Linked DNA regions of Homo sapiens: regions 2, 3, 4 and 5 are each linked to region 1. Evidence: promoter capture Hi-C in 16 types of primary human blood cells and fetal thymus (Javierre and others, 2016). All regions are on one chromosome and are shown on one strand. Each heading gives the region's core, a stretch centred on a gene start or on the middle of the fragment in contact. The rest is flanking DNA. Distances are from core to core; before and after follow the strand shown. Region 1 holds the start of CADM4 (cell adhesion molecule 4). Region 2 has its middle 2.6 kb from the start of TEX101. Region 3 has its middle 23 kb from the start of LYPD3. Region 4 has its middle 12 kb from the start of ZNF283. Region 5 overlaps LYPD3 (LY6/PLAUR domain containing 3).

The links. The method cuts DNA at HindIII sites, captures the fragments that hold promoters and counts their contacts. A CHiCAGO score of 5 or more calls a contact.
Region 2: a fragment that was not itself captured here is called in contact with the fragment with the promoter of CADM4 in region 1 in 1 of 17 cell types (total CD8 T cells); the score reaches 5.0 in total CD8 T cells.
Region 3: a contact is called between a fragment that was not itself captured here and the fragment with the promoter of CADM4 in region 1, in 11 of 17 cell types (total B cells, activated CD4 T cells, non-activated CD4 T cells and 8 more). The highest score is 9.6, in total B cells.
Region 4: a contact is called between a fragment that was not itself captured here and the fragment with the promoter of CADM4 in region 1, in 1 of 17 cell types (M1 macrophages). The highest score is 5.2, in M1 macrophages.
Region 5: a fragment that was not itself captured here is called in contact with the fragment with the promoter of CADM4 in region 1 in 3 of 17 cell types (fetal thymus, activated CD4 T cells and naive B cells); the score reaches 7.3 in fetal thymus.

The regions. Positions count from the first base shown.
Region 1 is chr19:43,638,453-43,641,214 of GRCh38, reverse strand. It overlaps CADM4 (cell adhesion molecule 4), which reads left to right and starts at 1,365. Exons shown (of 9, transcript NM_145296.2): 1 at 1,365-1,488. The coding sequence starts at 1,425. RefSeq lists a silencer at 1,342-1,481. The HindIII fragment of the contact is 9,580 bases long and covers 1-2,762 here.
Region 2 is chr19:43,410,957-43,413,718 of GRCh38, reverse strand. It overlaps a transcript of TEX101 not described here. Among named protein-coding and RNA genes, the nearest start is that of TEX101, 2.6 kb to the left of the region's middle. RefSeq lists a silencer at 442-628. The HindIII fragment of the contact is 751 bases long and covers 980-1,730 here.
Region 3 is chr19:43,441,088-43,443,849 of GRCh38, reverse strand. No RefSeq gene overlaps it. Among named protein-coding and RNA genes, the nearest start is that of LYPD3, 23 kb to the left of the region's middle. The HindIII fragment of the contact is 6,258 bases long and covers 1-2,762 here.
Region 4 is chr19:43,814,357-43,817,118 of GRCh38, reverse strand. It overlaps a transcript of LYPD5 not described here. Among named protein-coding and RNA genes, the nearest start is that of ZNF283, 12 kb to the left of the region's middle. The HindIII fragment of the contact is 4,808 bases long and covers 1-2,762 here.
Region 5 is chr19:43,460,579-43,463,340 of GRCh38, reverse strand. LYPD3 (LY6/PLAUR domain containing 3) reads left to right here. Exons shown (of 5, transcript NM_014400.3): 4 at 54-215; 5 at 1,494-2,554. The coding sequence ends at 1,990. Among named protein-coding and RNA genes, the nearest start is that of LYPD3, 3.6 kb to the left of the region's middle. RefSeq lists enhancers at 65-114, 145-204. The HindIII fragment of the contact is 1,815 bases long and covers 503-2,317 here.

The DNA of each region.
Region 1 (2,762 bases), core at 116-2,615:
GATGGATCACCTGAGGTAAGGAGTTCAAGACCAGCCTGGCCAGCATGGCAAAACTCCGTCTCTACTAAAAATATAAAAATTAGCTAGGCATGGTGGCGGGCGCCTGTAATCTCAGCTACTCGGGAGGCTGAGGCAGGAGAATCACTGGAACCTGGGAGGCAGAGGTTGCAGTGAGTCGAGATCGTGCCACTGCACTCCAGCCTGGGCAACAGAGCGAGACTCCGTCTGGGCGGGGAGGGGGGAGGGGGGAAGGAAAGATGTTCATAATTGGCACTTCTGGACCTCAGTTTGCCTGACAAATGGGCATGAGAGAGGTCGAGGCCTTCTTTCCATGGTTTCTCACTCTTTCTGGGTCCCATAGGTAATGATCCCGCATCAGGTCTACAGGGTGTCACAGAAGTGGGCTCAGGGAAACCCACTCCCAGGAGGGAGAAGGGACCTAAGTCTGGAGGGGTGAGTCACCCTCAAAGATGGGGAGAGAGGAAGGGCAGAGGCAAATACATGCAGAGAGAGGGAGAGAGGCTGGGGCAGGGAGACAGCAGGGAGGAGAGGGGACGCCAGGGCTTGGAAGGTGTTCACAGGAGCCTCTCCCTCCTGGGACCCAGGATTCAGGCTTCCTTCCAGTTAGTTCACTTTCAGGGGGCCCCTCCCGGAGAATGACGCGGAAACACGGGGTTTTCAGGTCAGGACAGGAGAGAGGGAGGGAGGGAACTGACCCCACCCCACTCCTGAGCCCCAGCCTCGCCCTGCCCTGGGAGATCCTTGACCTGCCTCGACCTCCGGACCCTCCGGACCTCCAGCTGCAGCCTCCCCTGTCCCGGTGGCTCAGCTCACAGCCTCTCGCTAGACTCCAGACACCCACCTGCCCGCAGCACGCCTCTCACACTCACCTTTCCCACGTCGCACTCCCTCCCTTACGCTCCCCCGTCACGCTGGCCACGCTCTCCCTTCGCACACACCGCACCCCACGACGCCCGCGCCCCCACCCTCGCACAGCCTCCAGCAACACCCTGCCACCCTCCCCTCCGCGCAGCGCAAGCACCCTGCATGCCAGCAACTCCGCACCCTCGCGCGCAGCACCTGGGCCCGCACGCAGCACCCTCACCCAACACCCTCCATTTCCCGCGCTCACCGAGATCCCCCACCTGCTCCCACGCCGCTGTCGCCCTCCCGCGCACCCCTTCCCGCCCTCCTCACCCCTCTCCTCTCCAGCTTTCGCACCCCGCACCGTTCCCCCACCGTGCCGTCCCCCCGATTGTCTCCGGGCCTCTCCTCCGTCTCCCCCTCCCCTCCCCGGCCCCGCCCCGGCCTCGGCGCCCCGCCCCCGGGCGGGCAGGGGGCGGGGCGCGGGGGGCGGGGCGGGCGGCGCGGGCGGTGCAGGTGCCGGGCCGGGAGCGAGCGGCGGCGGCGGCGGCGGCGGCACCATGGGCCGGGCCCGGCGCTTCCAGTGGCCGCTGCTGCTGCTGTGGGCGGCCGCGGCGGGGCCAGGTAGGGTCGGGGGCCGGGGTCGGCCGGCCGGGCTGGGGCGGGGGGCGCGCTGTGGTGACAGCCCGGCAGCCTCGGGGCCGCAGAGGCCGAACAATGCGCGCGGGGCCGGGCCGGGCCCCCTCCCCGGGACAAAGCGCAGCGCGGGCCGGGAGCCGGGAGCGACGAGCGGGGGAGGGGGCGCGGGGCCCGGCCGCCGTGCCGCAGCCCCCCCACCCGCGCAGGCTGGATCCCGGCGGGGACAAAGGGCCCGAGACCCCCCTACACACACAAGTCCGCCCTCCCCAGGCCGGTCCCGCTGTCCTTCTGTCCAGTCTCTGCGTCCCTCTGTCCGCCCGTCTCTGAACCCCCCCGTCTGGCTCCTCGTCCCCCTACCCTTGTCCTCTATCCCTCAGTCTCGAAGTCCTGTCCCTCCTTCTGTCTGTCTCCCTCTCTTCTTGCCTCGGTGTTCCTCATCTATTCTGTCTTTGTCCCCTACCTCTGTCCCCTGGTCTCTGTCCCCTTTTCCTGGGTCACTCTGTCCCCTCCATCATCCTGTCTATTCTCTTTCCCCCGGATTTCTGCCCTCCCTCTCTGCCCCTATTCTTGGTCCCTGTCTCTGTCTCGCTGTCACCCTTGTTTTTCTGTCCCTTTTTCTCTGTCCCCTATCTGCCCCATCCCCTTGTCTCTGTCCCCTGTCTTTCTGTCACTCGTTTCTCTAACCCTTTCTGTCACCTGTCTCTTTCCCCCTTCTCTGTCCCACTATCTCCATCCCTGTCTTTCTGCTGTGCCTCCTCTCTCTACGCTTACAGCCTCCATCCCGGGATCTCCCATTCCCATCCTACCTTCCTCCCTCTCTCTATCCCTCTGTGCCCCTGAAGAGGAATTCAGTCAGGCAGGGCATTCTAAAGAGCCCTGGAGGGGAACATCTGTGTGCATGTGTGTGGGGAAGTGAGAATGGGGGACCTTGGCGTGTAGGCACACACGTGGATTCAGCGAATGCCTCTCCAAACCCTGCTCACCCATTCACACACCCAGGCTTGACTCACAGAGAAGCCCCTGTCCAGGACATCCAGGGAGCCATCCACATACCCTCATCACACACTGTGAGAAGCTGGAGACCCCCGAGGTTGGGTGACCCTGAGAATGGGGACAAGGTCAGGAAATGTCACCCACACACACTCTCACACTGTGTAAGTCTTGAACCTGCCACGGGTCACCCCTCCCTGGTGGATAAGGCCACTTTTGGAAGGAACAGAGGATTGGAAGGTGGCTAGGCAGAAGCAGGAGGGCTGGGT
Region 2 (2,762 bases), core at 106-2,605, 230 kb after region 1:
GGCCTCCCAGAGTACTGGGATTACAGACGTGAGCCACCACCCCTGGCCTATGTAAGCTTTCCAGGTGTGACATGAAGTTGTAGCAGGATGAGCTGCAGACAAAACTCCTCAGATACTGGATTAAAGAAGGAAGAGGTTTATTTGGCCGGGAGCCTCAGCAGACTTGCGTCTTAAGAGCCGAGCTCCCTGAAAAATAAATTCTTGGCCTTTTTTTTTTTTTTTGGAGTCTCCCTCTGTTGCCCAGGCTGGAGTGCAGTGGTGCAATCTCGGCTCACTGCAAGCTCTGCCTCCCGACTTCATGCCATTCTCCTGCCTCCGCCTCCCGAGTAGCTGGGACTACAGTCACCCACCACCACACCCGGCTAATTTTTTTGTATTTTTAGTAGAGATGGGGTTTCACTGTGTTAGCCAGGATGGTCTCGATCTCCTGACCTCGTGATCCGCCCGCCCCCCAAAGTGCTGGGATTACAGGCATGAGCCACCACGCCTGGCCAATTCTTGGCCTTTTTAAAGGCTTACAACTTCGAGGGGTCCACATGAAAGGGTCGTGATAAATCGAGCAAGCGTGGGAAACGTGACTGGGGGCTACATGCATCAGGTAACAGAACAGAAAGTTTTGCAATGCTTTTTCATATAATGTCTGGAACTTACAGATAACACAAGTAGTTTAGGTCAGGGGTTGCTGTTATTATTATTACTTTTTTTAACTCCTAGGGCTGGGTGGTGGTGCCAAGGTTGACTGGCTATTTATCTTACTTCTGTTTCTTTCCAACTTTTTGCTTTCTCTCTTTCCTCCTGTCTTGTGAACTAGGCAAGGTCGGGGGAGGAGGGCAGCAGGAGTAGTAGTGGTCTCCTTCCTTAAAGTAAGGCAACGCTTTGTATACTTTCAGAATTGGTACTGATTCTGTAAGTTATAGTATAAATGAGTATTTATTTTTAATAGAGAAAATGCCACAATAAGAAAGGGATTGGTAAAGCTTCAATCCCTTTGTTATCTTTGAACTGTTATCTTTGAATGATCACATGTCAAAGGATCCAGGAAGAATGTGTGCCAGTTTTCAGCCCCCGTCTGTCCCCCGAGGGCTCGTGCTTGGGAAAGCAGTCACCTTGTTGAGTCACTCTCCAGGTGACTTGGTCGCAGAATCCCTCCATCTCACACCTAGAAGAGACCTTGGAAGCCTAAGCACCCTCCACCTCTATTCTTCACCCCATTTCTGCTTCAACAGCTCCAGGGACCTCCTCTTGCTCCGTGACATAGTTTGGATATTTGTCCCCCGCCCAAATCTCATGTTGAAATGTAATTCCCAGTGTTGGAGATGCGACCTGGTGGAAGGTGTTTGGGTTATGGGGGCAGATCCTTCATGACTTGGTGCTGTCCTTGCAATGATGAGTGAGTCCTTGCCAGATCTGGTTGTTTAAGTGTGTGGCACCTCCCCTTCTTACTCTCTCTCGCTCCCCTTCTCTGGCCTGCATCCTTTTGCCATAAGTAAAAGCTCTCTGAGGCCTCCCCAGAAGGAGATGCTGGCACCACGCTTCCTGTACAGCTGCAGAACCTTGAGCCAATCAAACCTCTTTTCTTATAAATTACTTCTAGTCTCAGGTATTTCTTTATAGCAGTGCAAGAACACCCCAATACACAGCCCCTTGAGAAAGGTGGCTTTGCCTTTTTGGTGCAAGAGAGATTGACAGATCTTCCTTAGCCTGAGCCAATTTCTGTTCCTCTCCAAGCTTCAGTGTCCTCATCTAGAAAATGAAGAGGTTAGGCTGGGTGCAGTGGCTCAAGCCCATAATCCCAGCACTTTGGGAGGCCAAGGTGGGTGGTTCACCTGAGGTCAGGAGTTTGAGACCAGCCTGACCTTCACCAACACGGTGAAACCCTGTCTCTGCTAAAAATACAAAAATTAGCCAGGCCTGGTGGCACGCGCCTGTAATCCCAGCTACTTGGGAGGCTGAGGCAGGAGAATCACTTGAACCTGGGAGGCGGAGGTTGCAGTGAGCTGAGACTGCACCATTGCACTCCAGCCTGGGCAACAAGAGCAAAACTTGGTCTTGGTCTCAAAAAAAAAGAAAAAAAAGAAAAAAAAGAAAATGAGGAGGTTAGTCTAGAGCAATGGTTGGCAAATAGTTTATGAATCCATGGAACGTTTGTAAAAAAGAAAAAAGCTCAATGGCTAATATACAGTGAAGGCATCTTTTTATATAAGCACTTGTGACACCACCATTGGTCACTGGATTATTGCAGTACGCCCTGCCCTTGCCCATGTGGCTATTTCCCACCTGGCACCAGAGCGATCTCTTAATTGCAAGCCACACCACATTACTCCTGTTTAAAACTTTCTAATGGGCCAGGCACGGTGGCTCAGGCCTGTAATCCCAGCACTTTGGGAGGCCGAGGTGGTGGATCACCTGAGATCAGGAGTTCGAGACCAGCCTGGCCAACATGGTGAAACCCTGTCTCCACTAAAAATGAAAAAATTAGCTGGGCGTGGTGGTGCGCCCCTGTAATCCCAGCTACTCTGGATGCTGCAGCGAGAGAATCATTTGAACCTGGGAGGTGGAGGCTGCAGTGAGTCAAGATTGTGCTACTGCACTGCAGCCTGGGTGACAGAGCAAGACTCTGTTTCAAAAAAACCAAAACCTTCCAGTGGATTCTCATTTTACCTCAAGTAAGATTCTAGGCTGGGTGCCATGGCTCATGCCTGTAATCCCAACACTTTGGGAGGCTGAGGTGGGAGGATCGCTGGAGCCCAGGAGGTGGAGGT
Region 3 (2,762 bases), core at 165-2,664, 200 kb after region 1:
CACCTTTCTGGACTGAACCAATGTACATCTTACACCTACTGATTGATGTCTCATGTCTTCCTAAAAGGTATAAAACCAAGCTGTGCCCCTACCACCTTGGGCACGTGTCATCAGGACCTCCTGAGGCTGTGTCATGTGCGTGCATTCTCAACCTTGGTCTCCTAATTAACTTTCTGAATTAACTGAGACCTGTCTCAGATTTTCGGGGTTCACAGAGCAATTTATAAATCTTAACCCTGGTGATATGGTTTGGCTCTGTGTCCCCCCAAAACCTCATCTCAAATTGTAATCCCCACATGTGGAGGGAGGGACCTGGTGGGAGGTGATTCGATCTTGGGGGTGGTTCCCCCATGCAGTTCTCATGAGATCTGATGGTTTATAAGTGGCCGTTTCCCCTGCACTGTCTCTCCTGCCACCTTGTGAAGAAGGTGCTTGCTTCCCCTTCCCCTTCCGCCATGAGTGTAAGTTTCCTGAGGCTTCCTCAGCAATGTGGAACTGCAGGTCAATTAAACCTCTTTTGTTTATAAATTACCCAGTCTCAGGTAGTATCTTTTTTTTTGAGACAGAGTTTCCCTCTTGTTGCCCAGGCTGGAGTGCAGTAGTGCGATCTCGGCTCACAACCTCTGTCTCCTGGATTCAAGTGATTCTCCTGCCTCAGCCTCCTGAGTAGCTGATTACAGGTGCCTGCCACCATGCCTGACTTTTTTTTTTTTTTTGTATTTTTAGTAGAGACGGGTTTTCATCATGTTAGCCAGGCTGGTCTTGAACTCCTGACATCGGGTGATCTACCCACCTCAGCCTCCCAAAGAGTAGGGATTACAGGCATGAGCCACCTTGTCTGGCCAGTATCTTTATAGCAGGTAGTATCTTTATAGCAGTGTGAGAATGGACTAATACACCCTTTAATCTTTTCCTCACTTCCTTCAACACTAATGATTTTTGTGAACATTTATCTACTAACATATATTTAACATTATCTTTTTAAAAATTTTTTTGTGAGAGGGGGTCTTGCTCTGTCACCCAGCCTGGGGTGCAGTGGTGTGATCGCAGCTCATGGCAGCCTTGACCTCCTAGGCTTAGGCGATCCTTCTGCCTTAGTTTTCCAAGTAGCTGGGACCACAAGTGTGCACCACCATGCCTAGCTAATTTTTAGATTTTTTTTTTTTTTTTTTGAGACAGAGTCTCGCTCTGTCACCAGGCTGGAGTGCAGTGGTGCCATCTTGGCTCACTGCAACCTCTGCCTCCCAGGTTCAAACAATTCTCTTGCCTCAGCCTCCTGAGTAGCTGGGATTACAGGTGTATGCCACCATGCCTGGCTAATTTTTATATTCGTAGTAGAGATGGGGTTTCATTATATGTTGACCAGGCTGGTCTCAAATTCCTGACCTCAGGTGATCCACCTGCCTCAGCCTCCCAAAGTCCTGGAATTACAGGCGTGAGCCACCACACTCGGCCTTTTTAAATCACGTAAATAATACACAGACTTAATCCTGCTATAGAAATTCAAATGTAGAGTCAACCGTGAAAGTTTCCCTTGTCAAGATTCCCTGGCATCTCCTCTTCCATTCTACTTAGGACCTTGGAATGGGGAGATGCTGCATTTTGGAGGTAAAAATTCCAATAGTAAAGTGAAAGCTAGCATTTACTAAGCAGTCCCCATGACCCAGGCACATATGAACTTTTGAAGGTTATCAGAATCAAAATGGAGTCACTCATGTTAAAAAAAAGAAAAAGAAAAAAAAGCTCCGACCAACAGAGTGAAGGAAAGCCATGGAGAGAGGGTTCTCATACTTGTATGACTGATCACAAAAACTATCACAAAAAAACTGCAAAAAACACAATCTCACACAAAGACCATTGCAAACTTACACAGAAAAATACTTCTGCAAGGACGTTTGCCCAGCAACTGCCTGTCCAACCCCAGACTGGCATCATCTTTGTGATTCATTTTTCTAGCCAAAGATGATTATTTCAAAACCATTATGTAATTCTCCTCATTTTTTTTCTTTAAAAACCTTTGTCTTCTTTGACCTCCTTGAATATGTATAACACTCCTATTCCCATTGCAATTCTCTGTTCTTGAATAAACTTTTTTTTTTTTTTTGAGATGTAGTTTCACTCTTTCGCCCATGCTGGAGTGCAGTGGCATGAACTTGGCTCACTGCAACCTCCACCCCCCGGGTTCAACTGATTCTCCTGCCTTGGCCTCCCTAGCAGCTGGGATTACATGCACCTGCCATGATGCCTGGCTAATTTTTGTATTTTTAGTAGAGATGAGGCTTTGCCATGTTGGTCAGGTTCGTCTCGAACTCCTGACCTCAAGTGATCCACCCGCCTCGGCCTCCCAAAGTGCTAGGATTACAGACGTGAGCCACCTCGCCCAACCAATTTTTGTTTCTTTTAGAGAGCCTCTCGCTGTTTGTTATCTAGGTTGACAACTAATTTAATCACAATAAAATCCACACTCCAAGCTAGGAGTGGCCTGTGCCTGTAGTCTCAGCTACGTGGGAGGCTAAGACAGGAGAATAGCTTGAGCCCAGGAGGTTGAGGCTGCAGTGAGCCATGATTGTGCCACTATACTCCAGCCTGGGCGATAGAGCAAGACCCTGCCTTAAAAAAAAAAATGGCTGGACACGGTGGCTCACGCCTGTAATCTCAGCACTTTGGGAGGCTGAGGTGGGTGGAGTACTTGCGTTCAGGAGTTCGAGACCAGCCTGGGCAATATGGCAAAACCCTGTCTCTACTAAAAATACAAAAAATTA
Region 4 (2,762 bases), core at 85-2,584, 180 kb before region 1:
TGTGAGAAATAATATTCGTAATTTCAAGCCTCTGAGTTTTGGGGTTACTGATTGTTTTCGTCTGTTTTCATGCTGCTGATAAAGACATACCCAAGACTGGGTAACTGATAAAGAAAAACAGGTTTAATGGACTCATAGTTACACATGCCTGGGGAGGCCTCACAATCATAGCAGAAGAGCAAAAGAGAACAAAGAGACATCTTACATGGCAGCCAGCAAAGAGAATGAGAGCCAAGCAAAAAGGGTTTCCCCTTATAAAACCATCAGCTCTGATAATACTTATTCACTATCATGAGAACGGTATGGGGGAAACCACCCCCATGATTCAGTTATCTCTCACCGGGTTCCTCCCACAACATGTGGGAATTATGGGAGCTACAATTCAAGATGAGATTTGGGTGGGGACACAGCCAAACCGTATCACTTATTATGTGGCCAAAGCTAATTCATAGTGACTACTTTAAATGTAAACAAATAGCAGCTCCAATTTCAGCTGCTATGTCAGATGTGACATCTTTACTGGAGTTGACCAACCTAGTTTTTGGTCCTTAGTATGTGCTTAATGATCTGACAAATGTATTTTACTTGATCTCTGACATTTAGGAGAATTAAAAGCCATTCATGTGTGCATGGTAAGGACTGCAGCACTGTCTTGCCCCAGGTTCCTGATAACCCTCCTAATCTCCGTCATATTGTAGTCCACAGAGGCCTTGATCATCTTTACATTCTGAAGAACATAGCACTGGTTCATTCCACCAATAAAATCATGCTAATTTGACCTGGTGATCAGGAAGTGGCAATCACTGTAGAAGCCATAGTAATGCAAATGAGTGACAGAAAGAGGGAGATAAACCTCATGAATGTTCACTAACTTACCACATCAGTGAAGATTTTAGAAGTCCAATCATCTGGGACATGCCATAGTATCTCCCTTAAGGTAAAGAATAAGTTATTACAACTCACACTTCCTAAACTGATAAACAGGCACATAATTTGGTAGGGCTCTTTGACATTTGAAAGTGATAGATACATGATAGGTAGATAGATAGATAGATAGATAGATAGATAGATAGATAGATAGATAGAGTGGGGCGTGGTGGCTCACACCTGGAATCCCAGCAGTTTGGGAGGCCAAGGCGGGTGAATCGCTTGAGGTTAGGAGTTCGAGACCAGCCTGGCCAACATGGTGAAACTCCATCTCTACTAAAAATACAAAAATTAGGCATGGTGGTGCACACCTGTAGTCCCAGCTACTCAGGAGGCTGAGGCAGGGGAATCGCTTGAAGTCGGGAAGCAGAGGTTGCAGTGAGCTGAGATCGCGCCACTGCACTCCAGCCAGGGTGACAAAGTGAAACTCCGTCTCAAAAATAAAATAAAATAAAATAAAAATAATAGATGGGTATATATAGATGTGTGTTTATATATAACATATATGATTTATATGATACATATATAAATCACACTTCAGAATAGTGTTCTTTTTTTCTCTTTTTTTAATAGTTCTAGGTGTCTTTTATAGCTGGTTTTTGGTTTTGTTTTTGTTTTAGACAGAGTCTTGCTCTATTGCCCAGGCTGGAGTGCAGTGGCATGATCACAGCTCACTGCAGCCTTGACCTCCCTGGCTCAAGTAGATCCTCCCACCTCAGCCTCCCGAGTAACTGGGACTACAGGCACATGCCACCGTGCACAGCTAGTTTTTAAATTTTTTGTGGAGACGGGGTCTCCGTGTGTTGCCCATGCTGGTCTCAAACTCCTTTTTCTTTCTTTCTTTTTTTTTTTAGAAATAGGTTCTCACTATATTGCCCAGGCTGGCCTCAAACTCCTGGCCTCAAACAATCCCCCCACTTTCGGCCTCCCAAAGTGCTGAGATTACAGGCGTGACCCATCATGACTGGCCTGGAATTTTGTTCTGACTCATTTTTCAGATAAACTTGAAGGCTGCTGAGTTTCAAAGCAGGTGAGAGCTCTACAGCAGGTAAAGCCTGCGATGCAATCTCCCTGTCCCTGAGCCACATGAATCAGCAACTTTGATGGTGTCACCTCTATCCATAATGGTTGAAGCTGTTATGTGGAGTCTCTGGCAAGATACAAAAGCAAAATTACAGCCCGTAAGGTTCTGAAGTAAGTCCATTTATTATGCAGCATATAAGTGCTTTCAATTTGAAAACCAGCTGCTGAGTACTAATAGAGTCTGTGATTTTGACCATGGGACATCAAGTATCTATATGACTAAAACTACCTGTCATGAGTTGGGTATCTAACCCACTAAGTCATAGTGCGATTTGGGCACAGTATTAATTCATTGTAAGAGATCTAGATGGCACAAAAGAGTTACACACACAGACAGCTCAGACTCTCATGTCACTGACCTTGGTTGCAGCTATGTTGTTCCTTTAATTCACATTCATGACATCATATGAAGATTTTCCTGTAGAATATTAAGGAAGAAAAGGTCTGGCTCACAGATGGATCAGTGTGACTGATGTATTTTGGAAGCTGAACCTAAATTATCATATTACGGGACCACTACTCAGAGGTGGGTCCTACAGGCAGTGGTGAAGGTAAATCCTGGTGTACAGAGCTGTGATTGGAGATCTTCACTTCATTTGTTTGTTTGTTTGTTTTAGAGACAGGTCTTTCTCTGTTACCCAGGCTGGAGTGCAGTGGCAGGATCATAGCACACTGCAGCCTCAATCTCTTGGGTTCAAGTGATTTTTTCATTTCAGCCTCCCCAGTAGCTAGGACTACAGGTGTGCACCACT
Region 5 (2,762 bases), core at 161-2,660, 180 kb after region 1:
TGCGGTTCCCGAACCCTTTCGACACCTTTTCTTCCTCTCGGCTCCCCTCGCAGGTAATGAGAGTGCATACCCGCCCAACGGCGTGGAGTGCTACAGCTGTGTGGGCCTGAGCCGGGAGGCGTGCCAGGGTACATCGCCGCCGGTCGTGAGCTGCTACAACGCCAGCGATCATGTCTACAAGGGCTGCTTCGACGGCAACGTCACCTTGACGGCAGGTGAGGGAGCCCCGGAGCACGGGACCTACGGGAGTTGTGGTAGCCCTTCTGAAGCACCCTGGGCGGTAGGGAGCCCTTTACCCAAAGCGTTTCCTTAACCTGCGACGCATTCTGGGAATCGTGGGGCCTAGGTGCTTGTATCGTAGGGCATCATGGAAAATGCAGTCCCTTCCCCCAACATATTAATAGTGTGGGGATAGTGATGCTTTGTCCCAGAGTGTTTTGGAGGGAAATGCATTTCCATAGAGGGCTGCCAGGTACTTAAGAGGTATTTAAGCCTCTAAGCTTCTGCCCAGGCACTGCGGGGAATCTCTAGTTCTTAGCCCTTAAAACTCAAGGGGTCCCCCGCCTGTCCCAGACTATTGAGAAATGTAACCATGGAAAATGAAGTTCTTCAAATCCCATCCCCTGCCAGTTATGCTATGGAAGATGTAGTTCTTTTTTATTTTATTATTACTATTTTTTTTTAAAGACAGCATCTTGCTCTATCGCCTAGCCTGGAGTGTAGTGGCGCAATCATAGCTCACTGCAGCCTCTACCTCTTGGGCTCAAGCAGTCCTCCCGCCTCAGCCTCCCAAGTAGCTGGGACTACAGGGTGCACCGCCACGACTGGTTCCTTTTATTTTTGGTAACAGTGGGGTCTTGCCATGTTACCCAGGCTGGTATTGAACTCTTGGGCTAAGAGATCCCCCTGCCTAGGTCTCCCAGAGTGCTGGGATTACAGCCGTGAACCACTGAGCCTGGTGTGGAGATGTAACTCTGACTCTAAGAGTAAATTCTGATGGGGAGGTAAAAGCCAGGGTGAAGGCTAAGGGGATAATGGTGAGAGGGTTGTAGAGGAAGTTTGTTCTGCACTGTGGTCTTGTGAGAGGTCTTGTATCTCAGTCTAAGCCTTTGTTTTAAACCCTACTTTTGGTTCAGCCTACACACATTTCCATTCAAAGCACAATGGAAAATGTTAATCCACCATGTGCCAAAGACAGTGAGTCTGTCTGTTTCTCATAGTAGGACCTGAGTTGAGATTTTGGGATTAATGGATGCAGAGACTTTCTGTCTCATTTTGGGGGTTCTCTGTTCTTTTTTTTTTTTGCAAGACAGAGTCTCACTCTGTTGCCCAGTGATCCACCTGCCTCGGCTTCCCAAAGTGCTGGGATTACAGGCGTGAGCCACCACGCCCGGTCAGGTTCTCTGTTCTTGTCTGATGCCTCTAAGTTTTGTTCTGGCCATGTCAACCTCTCTCCCTCCAGCCACTGACCTATCTGTGTCTCCTTCCTGCAGCTAATGTGACTGTGTCCTTGCCTGTCCGGGGCTGTGTCCAGGATGAATTCTGCACTCGGGATGGAGTAACAGGCCCAGGGTTCACGCTCAGTGGCTCCTGTTGCCAGGGGTCCCGCTGTAACTCTGACCTCCGCAACAAGACCTACTTCTCCCCTCGAATCCCACCCCTTGTCCGGCTGCCCCCTCCAGAGCCCACGACTGTGGCCTCAACCACATCTGTCACCACTTCTACCTCGGCCCCAGTGAGACCCACATCCACCACCAAACCCATGCCAGCGCCAACCAGTCAGACTCCGAGACAGGGAGTAGAACACGAGGCCTCCCGGGATGAGGAGCCCAGGTTGACTGGAGGCGCCGCTGGCCACCAGGACCGCAGCAATTCAGGGCAGTATCCTGCAAAAGGGGGGCCCCAGCAGCCCCATAATAAAGGCTGTGTGGCTCCCACAGCTGGATTGGCAGCCCTTCTGTTGGCCGTGGCTGCTGGTGTCCTACTGTGAGCTTCTCCACCTGGAAATTTCCCTCTCACCTACTTCTCTGGCCCTGGGTACCCCTCTTCTCATCACTTCCTGTTCCCACCACTGGACTGGGCTGGCCCAGCCCCTGTTTTTCCAACATTCCCCAGTATCCCCAGCTTCTGCTGCGCTGGTTTGCGGCTTTGGGAAATAAAATACCGTTGTATATATTCTGCCAGGGGTGTTCTAGCTTTTTGAGGACAGCTCCTGTATCCTTCTCATCCTTGTCTCTCCGCTTGTCCTCTTGTGATGTTAGGACAGAGTGAGAGAAGTCAGCTGTCACGGGGAAGGTGAGAGAGAGGATGCTAAGCTTCCTACTCACTTTCTCCTAGCCAGCCTGGACTTTGGAGCGTGGGGTGGGTGGGACAATGGCTCCCCACTCTAAGCACTGCCTCCCCTACTCCCCGCATCTTTGGGGAATCGGTTCCCCATATGTCTTCCTTACTAGACTGTGAGCTCCTCGAGGGCAGGGACCGTGCCTTATGTCTGTGTGTGATCAGTTTCTGGCACATAAATGCCTCAATAAAGATTTAATTACTTTGTATAGTGCTTTAAAGGAGTCACTTCCACCTTGTTTCTCGCAATAACCGCTCTAGCTGAGCTAGGGTGGGCATCATAAAGCCTTTAACGGGAGAGATATGGGACCTAGAGCCGCAGTCCTGGGGGAAGTCACGGTTGAACTTTAATCTCCTGGGTCTATCCTGCATGTGGGTGGTCCCACTGGTGAGGGGGAGACCGGGCGAAACCATTAAGCAGC